Regions from separate parts of the Homo sapiens genome. Here region 1 is linked to region 2. The links are contacts of gene promoters, found by promoter capture Hi-C in human tissues and cell types (Jung and others, 2019). All regions are on one chromosome and are shown on one strand. Each heading gives the region's core, a stretch centred on a gene start or on the middle of the fragment in contact. The rest is flanking DNA. Distances are from core to core; before and after follow the strand shown. Region 1 overlaps SHISA6 (shisa family member 6). Region 2 holds the start of DNAH9 (dynein axonemal heavy chain 9).

Evidence for each region. The method cuts DNA at HindIII sites, captures the fragments that hold promoters and counts their contacts. A contact is called where the count stands out against the background at its distance.
Region 1: a fragment that was not itself captured here is called in contact with the fragment with the promoter of DNAH9 in region 2 in 1 of the 25 tissues and cell types used here (heart left ventricle).

Annotation. Positions count from the first base shown.
Region 1 is chr17:11,531,251-11,537,369 of GRCh38, forward strand. All of the region lies in intron 3 of SHISA6 (shisa family member 6), which reads left to right. Among named protein-coding and RNA genes, the nearest start is that of DNAH9, 64 kb to the right of the region's middle. The HindIII fragment of the contact is 4,604 bases long and covers 1,413-6,016 here.
Region 2 is chr17:11,594,977-11,601,174 of GRCh38, forward strand. It overlaps DNAH9 (dynein axonemal heavy chain 9), which reads left to right and starts at 3,494. Exons shown (of 69, transcript NM_001372.4): 1 at 3,494-3,939. The coding sequence starts at 3,523. The HindIII fragment of the contact is 9,113 bases long and covers 1-4,816 here.

The sequences.
Region 1 (6,119 bases), core at 2,465-4,964, 64 kb before region 2:
GTGTGTGTGTGTGTGTAAGTGTGTAAATGTCTTTCCCCCAAATTACTTTTTTGGGACATTTTTCTATGATGCCATTGTCCTCCCCCTGATGAGCATTTCAGTTTAAACACACGATTCTCAGAGCAGGTTAGCTACAGATGGGGGTTTTCCACAGTCTTGGAATTAGTACTGATAAACAAAGAAACAGCTCAGATACGGTTAGTGAGGGTTAGGATGGCAGCTCTTCTGTTGGTCTGTCTGGTTCATCATTACGCACAGCCAGTACCCACAGCTGTGTGACCTGGACAGGCCACTGCACCATGCCTTAGTTTTCTCACCTATAAAATGGGGCTACTACTAGTTTCTACCTCTTAGAGTTGCTATAAAGATTAAATACAGCAATATATGTAAAGAACCTAGTTGGCCCCTAAAGTTTATCGAGTCCTTCACATTTATAACATTGACAGTAATCAGTGGCTCCATGCATGGATTCAGAAGCAATGCCTTAGACGGGAGGAATAAGCTTTAGTGATCCACTGCACAGAATCGTGACTATAATTAACAGCCATGCATTGTATATTTCAAAATTGCTTAAAGATTAGATTTTAAATGTTCTCAACACACAGTATTGATGCATATATGAGGTGATGGATAGGTTAATTAGCTTGATTTAATCATTCCACAATGTACACATGTATCAAAACACTTTGTGCCAAATAAATATATCCAGTTTATTATTTGTCAAATACAAATAAAATTTGTAAAATAAAATGCCTCATGAAATCCACGCAGAGGAAATATGAAAAACTAGGAGATGTGAGAAGAAATTCAGTCAGAAGTCAGATGACAGAAGATAATGATGTAGAACAGAAAATTTCATAGGGTGGAGAGAAAATTGAAGCAGGAGAAGTTTGGAGTGACACATGTTGTCACTTGACCAGCGCCAGCCGATGGCTCTGAACTGCGGTGTAAGTGGTGCAAGAATTAGGGAAGAAATAGGCACCGGGATCTTCCCTAGGGGACAGCAGGCAGATCAAGCCACGTATACCATATTCCACTCCCAGCCAAGACATGGAGAAGGAGTGTCTGATGAGGCAGCAAAGTGTTAACAGTGGGTATCAGAAAGAGCATGTGTGAGCTCTGAGACGTTGGTGCCTGGTGCCCAGGGAGCATAGATCCTTGTTTCTTTCCCTTCCTTATCTCTCTCAGAGTGTCCAACCAAAAGGGGAGAAAGCAAAATAGGCTGTGCGCGCGCGTGTGTGTGTGTGCGCGCACGCGCGTATGTGTGTAAATGCCTTTCCCCCAGATTCCTTTTTTGGAACATTTTCCTATGATCCCACATCCTCCCCTCCAGTGAGCGTTTCAGTTTAAGCATACACAATTCTCAGATCAAGTTAGCTACAGACAGGGATTTTGCTATAGTCTTGGAATTAGAGTTCTGAATTGAATGCAGTCTAAGGCCCAAGCCTCCCAAAGCAGGAGCCCATGCCTTTCCCCATTCTATCAGGGCTTTTTTTTTTTTTTTTTTTTTTTTTCATTTCATTCCAGCTCCTGCAGGCTTCCTCATGACACATATTCCACCTCTCAGCACACAGTGATCTCCAGGGTCTCCCTGAGGATTAGCAAAGGGAGCTCCACATCCTTTCCACTGGGCATATGGTTACCTGGAAATAGGCGTGTTGGTGCAAGACACCACATCCAGTTTCCTCCCTTTCCACTCCCAGAGAACTTCTCAGGGATCTGGCAGACTGCGTGAGTGTAAACAGCCACTTTGGGTTGTGTTGCCTTTGCTGCTGAGCTGTGCCTGTTAGCTATGAAATCTGCCCAAATGCCTCAGACAAATGCTGTATCCAACAACCAGCAGGAATGAGTCCTCTGATGAAAAGAAATGGAATCAAATCTTCATTATCAGCCCTCTTTGCTTCTTCTACCTGGCCCTTTGCTCATTAGCCACAAACACCATAAGTTATGGAGACCTCAGAGCTGATTCAGCTGCCGTTACCTCCCACTTGCATTTCTATAGTAGCTTGTCAACGCATTTCCCTTCTTCACTCCAATTCTTCCTACTGGTTAATTCTTAGAAAACAAGACCCTTGCCATGCCGTCAACAGCCTTTCAGGATAAAGTCAAAGTCAATTTGGCGTTAAAGTGCCATAATCTAACCTCATTCTACCGTCTCTCATCTGCACTCCTACCAACCCTCTATGACTCAGGCCCCATTCTCTCACGTTTTATTCTTGGCCTTTCTTTCTGTGAAAGAAGTCACCTCCCCTGGCCTCTCTCCCCACCGTCCAAAATCAAGTCTCCTTTATAGCTGCATTCAAGATTTACTTTCTTTTTGAAGCTTCCCTTTCATTATTTTTTTTTTTTTTTTTTTTTTTGAGATGGAGTCTCGCTCTGTCTCCCAGCCTGGAGTGCACTGGCACCATCTCGGCTGACTGCCAGCTCTGCCTCCCGGGTTCACGCCATTCTCCTGCCTCAGCCTCCCAAGTAGCTGGGACTACAGGCACCTGCCACCATGCCTGGCTAATTTTTTGTATTTTTAGTAGAGACGGGGTTTCACTGTGTTAGCCAGGATGATCTCGATCTACTGACCTCGTGATCCACCTACCTCGCCTCCCAAAGTGCTGGGATTACAGGCGTGAGCCACCGCGCCCAGCCTCATTATTCTTACTCTATTAAAATCTTCAAAATATTTTATGTACTCTCTGCAATTACACAGACTAGTATTTATTCTAACTTTTTTTTGTTTGTTTTTGTTTTTTGAGATGGAGTTTCACTCTTGTTGCCCTGGCTGGAGTGCAATGGTGCAATCTCAGCTCACCACAACCTCCTCTCCCGGGTTCAAGCGATTCTCCTCCTGCTTCAGCTTCCCAAATAGCTGGGATTACAGGCGCCTGCCACCATGCCTTGCTAATCTTTTTTTTCTTTTTTTTTTTTTTTTTTTTGTATTTTTAGTAGAGACAGGTTTTCACCATGTTGACCAGGCTGGTCTTGAACTTCTGACTTCAAGTGATCCGCCCACCTTGGCCTCCCAAAGTGCTAGAATTATACAGGCATGAGTCACTGCGCCCGGCCTATTCTAACATTTTGAAATATTTATTGAGCAATTGAGCACCTACTATGAGCAAGTTGCACTGTGTCAGATCTGCCTTCATATCTCCCCAAGTGCCCGGCATAATGGCCATATTTATCCACTCAATGGATGCATGTTGAGTGGAAGGGCTATGTTAGACTCCTTGGGAAGCAAAAAGATGAATTTTTCATCACCTGCCATCATCAAGAAATTAGTGTGTTAGAAGACACAAGGCATGTACATATGTAATTATAACACAATGTAGAAAGTGGTAAGCACCCCCAAGAAATGACAGAGCAGAGGAGAGTTCACAGTAAAGAAAGATTACCTGCAGCTGAAGGAATTGGAGAAAGCTGCCATGGATAAGGTGTTGTTTTAGAGGGCCTTGAAGGATGAATAAAAATTGAACAAGTGGTAATGTGGGAAAAGACATTCCAGGGAGACAGAAACAAGATTCAGAAAAGTGATGACAGCATAAAAAAGGAACTCAGTGGAAAGATCAATAAGGGGTTGTGTGCTGAGACTATTCTAGGAAGGCTACGGGCCAGGAGCGGTGGCACATGGCTGTAATCCCAGCACTTTGGGAGGCCAAGGAGGGTGGATCACGAGGTCAAGAGATTGAGACCATCCTGGCCAACATGGTGAAACCCCATCTCTACTAAAAATACAAAAATTAGCCATGCGTGGTGGCAGGCACCTGTAACCCCAGCTACTCGGGAGGCTGAAGCAGGAGGATTGCTTGAACCCAGGAGGCAGAGGTTGCGGTGAGGGTGAGCCAAGAGCGCACCACTGCACTCCAGCCTGGCAACAAAGCGAGACTCCATCTCAAAAAAAATAAAATAAAATAGAAATAAAAGAAGGCTATGGTGCAGGAAAGCAGGTATAAGATGGCAGAGGACCCCTGGCATGTTCATCCATGTCCATACGGCCAGGAGTCATCACCTGGAAGCAGTGCTATGCATGGAGATTCCCAGAAAAAGAGCACTCATTGCCCAACTCCTGGTCTTGTGTGTCTAACCAACTTCCCCAGCAGTGTGGCTGGTTTCTGCCAGGCTGCATGTTCCAATAGGATGATGGCCTTTAGGTGAAGGAAAAGAAGGGCTACAATGTGAAGCTACAAGAATGCTGTCAGCAGGGAGATGCAAGGACAAAGAATAGCTACATTGCTCCGGGCTGAGTCAGAGGCAGACTCCTTAGGGGGTTTTTAGGGTGAGTGTAAGAACAGATTTCTAGATTAGAAGCAGTGTGAACCTTTGTCCAAGAATCAGCCATTTATTACCAGTGTGCAAACCTAGATCCCACTAGAAACCCTGTCCAGCTCAACAGATGAGTCTGTATTTGCACGTTCTGGCAAAACCACATTATAGTGCAGAGATCAAGAGCATCGTGTTTGGAGTTATTAGATGTGAATTTGAATTCAGGTTCAGCTACTTATTTTTTGCGTGACCTCCTTGGGCAACTCAATGTCATCTATAAAATGTAAATGAGCTCACAGACTTGTTGTGAGGTTCAATGGCATGATATTTCCAAATTACTTCAAACAATGTCCAACAAAACAACAGTAGCTGATGGGAAAACAATGTGTGTGTGTGTGTGTGTGTGGTGTGTGTGTATATATCTATATACATATGTACACATATATATACACATATAGACATATATAGATATATAGAGATATTTATATCTATATATACAGATAGATAGATAGATATATATAGAGAGAGAAAGTGAGACAGAGTCTTTTCCCAAACGTGATAAATAAAGCTCCACTGATAGGGATGGCAATATGTGTGGATTCTTGGGCCAGGCACCAGAGTCAGAATTTCTTCCAGTTGGTATTATAATGGGAAGAACAAATGTGAAAGTTAAACACAGACCTAGATCACAGAAAATTTCACTACTTAAGGGAGCTATGATAGTATGTCAGGTACACTCATAGCATTACTGGGTAGATGCAGGGATAGCTATGATAGTATGCCAGGAACACTCATAGCATTACTGGGTAGATGCAGGGGGAGCTATGATAGTATGTCAGGTACACGCATAGCATTACTGGGTAGATGCAGGTGGTGTGGTGATCTACTTTGTATTTGGGATATTTGGGGGTTTCCCAAAAGGTTGCACATTCTCAAAAGAGCAACCATTCTATCATTCCAATATTTCAACTTGAGTTGAGTTTTGTGATGTTAAGTAGCTATGTCAGGTGCCTAGATTGGAGCTTGACAGATTGTAAGATGGGGTGCCTGCCCATGGGTGGAGGTGAAAAGAATCTGAAATTTGCAAAAGAATCTCACAGCAATCCCACTTCAGAGGGAATATCATAGGCCTTATGCCTCCATAGGGAGCCCACCTGCAGGCCCGCTTGGCACTGTGTCAGCAGCCAAGCCCAGCCCACCCTTGCTCATATCCACCTCATCACACATCTGGTGCTCACACCTGATTCCACTCCCAAGCAATTCCAGGGCATTTCAAGGTTGTCTTCCCATGGGTATGATTTAAATAGCTCTCAGGATATTCCTGAGTTTTCCCTATTACCAGCAAGAGGATTAGTCACCTGGAGCTGAGCAGGGTATGGTAAATGTGTCTTTTGTAGTAATTACAATAACTTCAAGCAGAACAAACACAGCTCCAGCATCTCCAGGCTCACACGAGCCAAAGCTGTCCTGAAGACGCGGATCACAGCAGGTGGCAGGCAGCTCTCCCAAGAAGACCTAAAGTTTGTCTTTTTAAGTGAATCTGGCAGAAGACACATTGTTTCCCTGTGTGGGCATGACAACCAATGTGATGCCACTTTTTTTTCAAGCAGAATTGAAAATGAACATCCTTGCCAGAAGTAGGGAAGCAGAGCAGGCTCACTGGAGAGGAGTTCACACAGACCTGGGCTCTCAAGAAAAAGAGCACTCACTACTCAGCTCCAAGGGGACCCTGAGTCAGGGCTTCTGGGGTAAAGGGACAAGACTGAGAAATAGGGAAAGCAAGAGAGTGGACAGAAGCACAGGAATCAGTGACCTCATAATGTCATCAGCAACCAACCTGTCTTACTGGGTGGCGGCGGGGGGGATCC
Region 2 (6,198 bases), core at 2,244-4,743:
AAATTATTCTGTAACTTTCCTATTTTTATTCAACATTATGCTTTTAGGATTTACCCATGTTGATGCATGTGACTACTGTCTATTTATTTTTACTGCTGTAGAGTATTATACGTCATGAATAGTATATAACACAATTTACTCATCCATTCTACTATTGATGGACACTTGGTTTGCTTCCCATTATTTTGCAGTTGCTACAATGCAACCATTGATGTTCTTATGCATGTCTCCTGGATGGAGTCACAGGCAGCATACACTGTCCTTCTATTCTTGGATCCCATAGAGATCCCTATTTGTGTCTGATGTTCACATTAATAGTATCCAAGATAGCTGAAAGGAGGTTATTCTAATAATTCATGCACATTATTTGAATTAGAACTTCATCATTATTTTGAAATATTTGATATGAAAAGATTGGGTTAGATTCAGTATCTATTAGCAGCATAAAAGATTTTCAATGTAACATTTGTCAAGGAAGAAAAGAAAGAGCTGTTAGATTCTGTAAATATAATGTCAACTGCTAATTTATGAATGGTTTTGAAAGGCTTTAACTTTCATATTACTTGCTTGTGGGAACAAATTTCTCATCACGAGCGACTATCCAGAATTTAAAGAGATCATGACCAAAAGTCTCAAACAGGAATTGTGCATAGTCATTTAAAACAAAAAATATGATTACTACAAATATTACGCTCATGGGACTGAGTTCAAGTTTCCAATTTAAAAAATGGAAATTATTTTAGCTGAACATCTTATGCAAATTCATTCTTTCCCTTACTTTTTGTGGTAGCCTGCCTCCAAGATGGTACCCAGTGATTCTTGTCTCCTGGTATTCACATCCTCATGTAATTCCCTCTCATATTGAATAGGGAAGACTTCTGTAACTAATAAGATAATTGCAGAAATGACAGTGTGTGATTTCCAAGGCTAGTCATAAGAGACACTGTAGGCTTCTGCCTTGCTCTCTCTTAGATCACTTCTTCCGGGGGAAGACAGTCACAGCATTACAAAGACACTCAGATACCCAATGGGGGCTCCACATGCTAAGAAGTTGAAGTCTACTGCCAAGAGCCAGCACTAACCAACTAGCCATGTGAGTAAGCCATCTTGGAAGTGTCTCCTCCAGCCCCAGTCAAGCCTTCAGATGATGTAGCCCCTGATGACATCTTGCCTGCAACATCATGAGAAACCTTGTGCAATAACTACGAGCTAAGCAGCTCCTAAATTCCTGACCCCCCCATAAACTGTGTGAGATAAATGTCTATTGCTATTTTAAGCTGATAAGTTTGGGGGTAATTTGTTATACAGTGATAGATAACTAATATATTTTGGGGATATTTTTGTCATAATTATACAATATTTTAAAATGTCAGTTGTTTTCAATAATCCCATATCAATGCCTCCCACCAATCACCTTCTAAAATGCAGATAAGGTATCTTTTTGGAGAGAAAATTAAAAACTGGGATTGCTAATATTCAGGAGCCTTCACCTTACACAGAAATCTTTAAGTCATATTCACAGACTCCTTTGTTCCTATTTTTATGTATGTTGGGGCAAGGGGACATAGGAGATTAACGGCATAATAGAGCCACAGTGCGGTGGCAGAAATTTTATTTCAAGGGTTTACTGAAAGTTAATGGTCCTGAAGTCACTCTGTATACGAAACATGAGCATAGTTGACACATTTGAAGTCCCTAAGCACTAAAACAATAACGATGCCTTCCTATGTGCAAAGATAAACAAAAAACGATATGTGTAAGAAGCCCCTGACATTACTATTTTTCCCTGATGCTTCTTCTTGAAATGTCAGTTACCAAATTCATCCTAAAGATTGTTTTAGTTTCCCACTTTTTCCCTTTCCTCATAGTTGGTTGATTATTGTTTAATCCAGCAATGATGAAACACCCTTTACAAACATAAAGATTCATTTCTAACATGAACATTTTTTATTACAGCAACTCCTTTGCTCCAGTTATTATGAAATCAATCATTTTACTTCCCAACCACTGGTGTTTTCCCGAGGGGCTCTTGTTAGCCAAGCTACCATTGATAAGTGCTTATTCTGTTAATATTCCTTTGAAACCCATTATAAACATTCCTTTTACCCAGAAACTCAGCAGTCCCTGGGAGGTGACTAAAGGGAGGATGGCAGGGCAGAGGGGAGCTCATTCAGTCCTGCAGACCTCATGCTGCCCAAGTTGTTTGTCCATTTTTTCAGCACCCATGCACTGTCACCTTACATGCATGCAAAGGGCCAAGCTGTTTATCCTGACCATGGAGAAGGACTAAGCAGGTAACAAATGCTAATTTCTGAGGTCAGGCAAGGCACTTTATATTATCCCTTTTTGAAGCCAATATCCAGGTATAGGGCAGGATGGGAAGGTTCTGAGCATCCTGCATATTTACAAGTACTTTGCTACATTTAGTAAGAACTGATTAGTGGTCATACCCATGGAAGTCAAAAACTCTAGCATGGTGGCTCATCCTTATAATCCCAGCACTTTGGGAGGCTGAGGCAGAAGGATCAGTTGAGTCCAGGACTTCAAGACCAGTTTGGACAACACAGCGAGACCTCATCTCTACAAAAAATTTTTAAAATTAGCTGGATGTGGTGGCGCCTGTATTCCCAGCTCCTAGGGAATCTGAGACCAGAGGATCAGTTGAGCCCAGGGATTTGAGGCTGCGGTGAACTATGATCCGGCCACTGCACTCCAGTCTGGGCAACAGAGTAAGACTCTGTCTCAAAAACAAGCCTCTTACAGTTTGGTTACATTTTTAGAAGATTAAGCACATGCCTTAAAAAACATGGGCAAAGAAAGGCACGGAAGAAAACTTAAAAAAACTTGATATTAAAATTTTGAAGCTGAGCTGTTCGATATAACTACAGTCACATGTGACTATTTAATTTTAAGTGAAAATTAAGTAAAATTAAAAATTTCCTCAGTGGGACGAGCATATTTCACCTCCTTTATAGGCCATGCGTGGCTAGAACAGATGGAAAACATTTCCATCATCGCAGAAAGTTCTACTGGACAGCACTGTTCTGAAGTGTTTAATTTGCCATCATGGAAAAGAAATAAAATTCACTGAATGTCCTTAAATCTGTTTTATGATTTGGCATTGTGTTTAAGTCTGGATTGCACATTTAGGATAGAGGTAAGAGGACCACACTATTTTCAGTGTCTGGAGACCTCTAAAGACTCTAATTCGACCTTGGCCAAAACGATCCTTAACAGCATTTATATGCTTGATCTCCTCTCCACGCAGCCCATCAATAAGCCATTGCGCTCCACGGTCACACTTCAGCACTCCCAATACACCAGGCAGACACTGAGTACGAGTCTCGGCTGGTGTCCTAGCAACAGCGACGCGACCCCGCCCCTTCCCGCGTACACCTCCTACCTTATTAGCCTGGAAGGGGCGGGACCAGGGGTCCGTGCCCAATAGGAAGGGAGCAGAGGAGTGAGTCCTGGCCGCGTCCCCGTCGCTAGGGAAACCGATGCAGCTGGAGGCCGCGCGCGATGCGGCTCGCGGAGGAGCGGGCCGCGCTCGCGGCGGAGAACGCGGATGGGGAACCCGGCGCCGACCGACGACTGCGACTCCTGGGGACCTACGTGGCCATGAGCCTGCGGCCGGCTGCGGGCGCCTGGGAGCGTTGCGCGGGGAGTGCTGAGGCGGAGCAGCTGCTCCAGGCCTTCCTGGGCCGCGATGCTGCCGAGGGGCCGCGGCCGCTGCTGGTGGTGCGGCCCGGGCCCAGGGGCCTGGCAATACGCCCCGGGCTGGAGGTGGGACCTGAGTCGGGCCTGGCTGGCGCTAAGGCGCTTTTTTTCCTTCGCACCGGGCCCGAGCCTCCAGGGCCCGACAGCTTCCGCGGCGCAGTGGTCTGCGGGGACCTGCCCGCGGCACCTCTGGAGCACCTAGCCGCGCTGTTCTCGGAGGTGAGGGTGGGTTAGTGTCCCCGCGCGGCTAAAGCTGGGTGGGGGAGGGGAGGAGGAGCCTTAAGGGACGGAGGCGGGGCCAGAGGGGGCGGGGCGAAGCTGCAGGGGAGGTCCAAGAGGCGGAGTGATAGGCAGAGGGGCGAGGCTGTGGAGGGAGCACAACCAGGAGGGAAGTTCCTGAAGTCAGGAAGAAAATGGGATGGGGTTAGGGGCGGAGTCGGGTGGGTCCGGAGGGAGGGATCTGGGTGGAGGCCAGGCCAGAATGAGAATGGGAAGGAGCTGAGGCTTGGGTCAGTCCGGGTCTGGGTTCCAGCCAAAGTCAGGGGAAGACCATAATCTGAAGAGTGCCTAGGTTCTGACTACTTTCAAAATCAGCCTCTCGTAATCCCTCCTGTAAATTGGAAAGATCTGAAGAAGATGGGAAGTGGACAAGACGGCATTTCTGATGGATCAGTGGGGTGGAAGGAGGTGGATGGCTATAAACAGTGCCTACTTCTGGAGAGCAGTTAAATGGGAGGGGGAGGTGGGTAGTGATTTGCTTTTGATTTTCATCTCATTCATTCATTACCAACCATTTAGCAAAGGTCAGCCCTGTGCCAGCATAAGAAGTTGGGCTCCCATTTGGAAATGCCCAGCAGGCCTTTGGAGGAGTCTGCCTGAAGCTCAGGGAGGAAGGTGGAGATGTGGGTCATGAGTGCTTTAGTGGCACCACAGCAGAAGCTTCGAGAATGCAGGAGATTTCAGGGAAGTGCTCCAGAGAGATTCCTGGGCCCCTTAGACCTTTCTGGAATGGGAGTAAACTGCCCTGCAAGTCAGGCTGTGTGCTTATGGAGGCTTGATGCCCTGGACCCTGCAGGTTGTGAAATAAGGATGGGCAGAATACTGGCTGTATGATGGTTCAGGTGATAGGTGCTATAGGGAATACCAAAGAACTATTCCCACCCATGAAATGCTTACTCCAAGGAGCTGAAACGTATGTAATAATTCATATATTCAAAATGTTTCAAACTTTTAAGACTGGGGTGAGGGTAAAGCTTACCTAAAAGTTGGCCCCACTGCTGGATGCAAGTCCTGGAGTCTCCCTGCTATGTCAAGTGTAAGCCCTTTAGATGGTGTATCAGGAGGCTGTGGGGAGGTGAAAATTCCAGGGAAAGGGTTGGATAGATAGAGGAGGACACAGAGGGCCCAGGAAGCTAGATCTCTTAGATATGGAGGTATTTCAATATTTTAACAAACAGAATGGTCTTGCAACTGTGCATTGTCTGAAAGCCATCCCGCTGAAGCCTGAACTTAGATCAGCTTCTCTAATGAATGTTGACGATAGAAAGTACTTTTGGCTTCAGAGGAGAAAGACAGGCCTGTGATCTGAGAAGCATGCTTAACATAAGTGTTGAATTGTCTCCTGAACAATTAGAAGAATTTGTATAAGTAGAGAGCAAGGTAACTTTCAAGATACTGAGAGCAGACTGATCAAAGGTTCAGAGACAGGATTTAACCTAGTGTATGTGGGAGACAGAAGGCCCATCTCAGAGTTGTGTCATGGCCAAGCAAAGTAGTCCAGCAAGAAAAATAATTTTAAAATAATGAAAATTCTCGAATGTTTAAGAATTTTCATTGGTGCATTGAAAGAGATTGGAGACAAACAATGTTCATCAACAGGGGACTGGGTGACTGAATTATGGGCCATCTATACAGTGAAATACTTTGCAACTATTAAAAAGAATGACTGATATGGAATATTCCTTTTTTTGAGGCAGGGTCTTGCTATGTTGACCAGGCTGGTTTCAAACTCCTAGACTCAAGTGATCCTCCTGCCTTGGCCTCCCAAAGTGCTGGGATTACAGGTGTGAGCCACCATGTCCAACCGGAGTTATTCCTTAGGGTAATTTTTTCCTTGTGGCAAAAAAAACACATGACGTAAAATTCACCCAACAATTTCCAAGTGTAGAGTACAATATTGTCAACCACATATGCATTATTGTGCAACACATCCTCAGAACTGCCCCGTCCAGCATCACTGAAACTCCACACACACCCAGCAAGCCACACATCGCTCCCCTGAGCTCCTGGCTAGCACCATTCTACTTTCTGTTCCTATGAACCTGACTCATCATATAAGTGGAATCATGCAGTATTTGTTCCTTCTGACTGACTTATGTCACTTAGCATAATGTCCTCAAGGTTCATCCATATCGTCACCGCCTATCGTCATATGCGGGATTTCTTTCTTTTTTTAACAATATTCTATTGTATGTATAT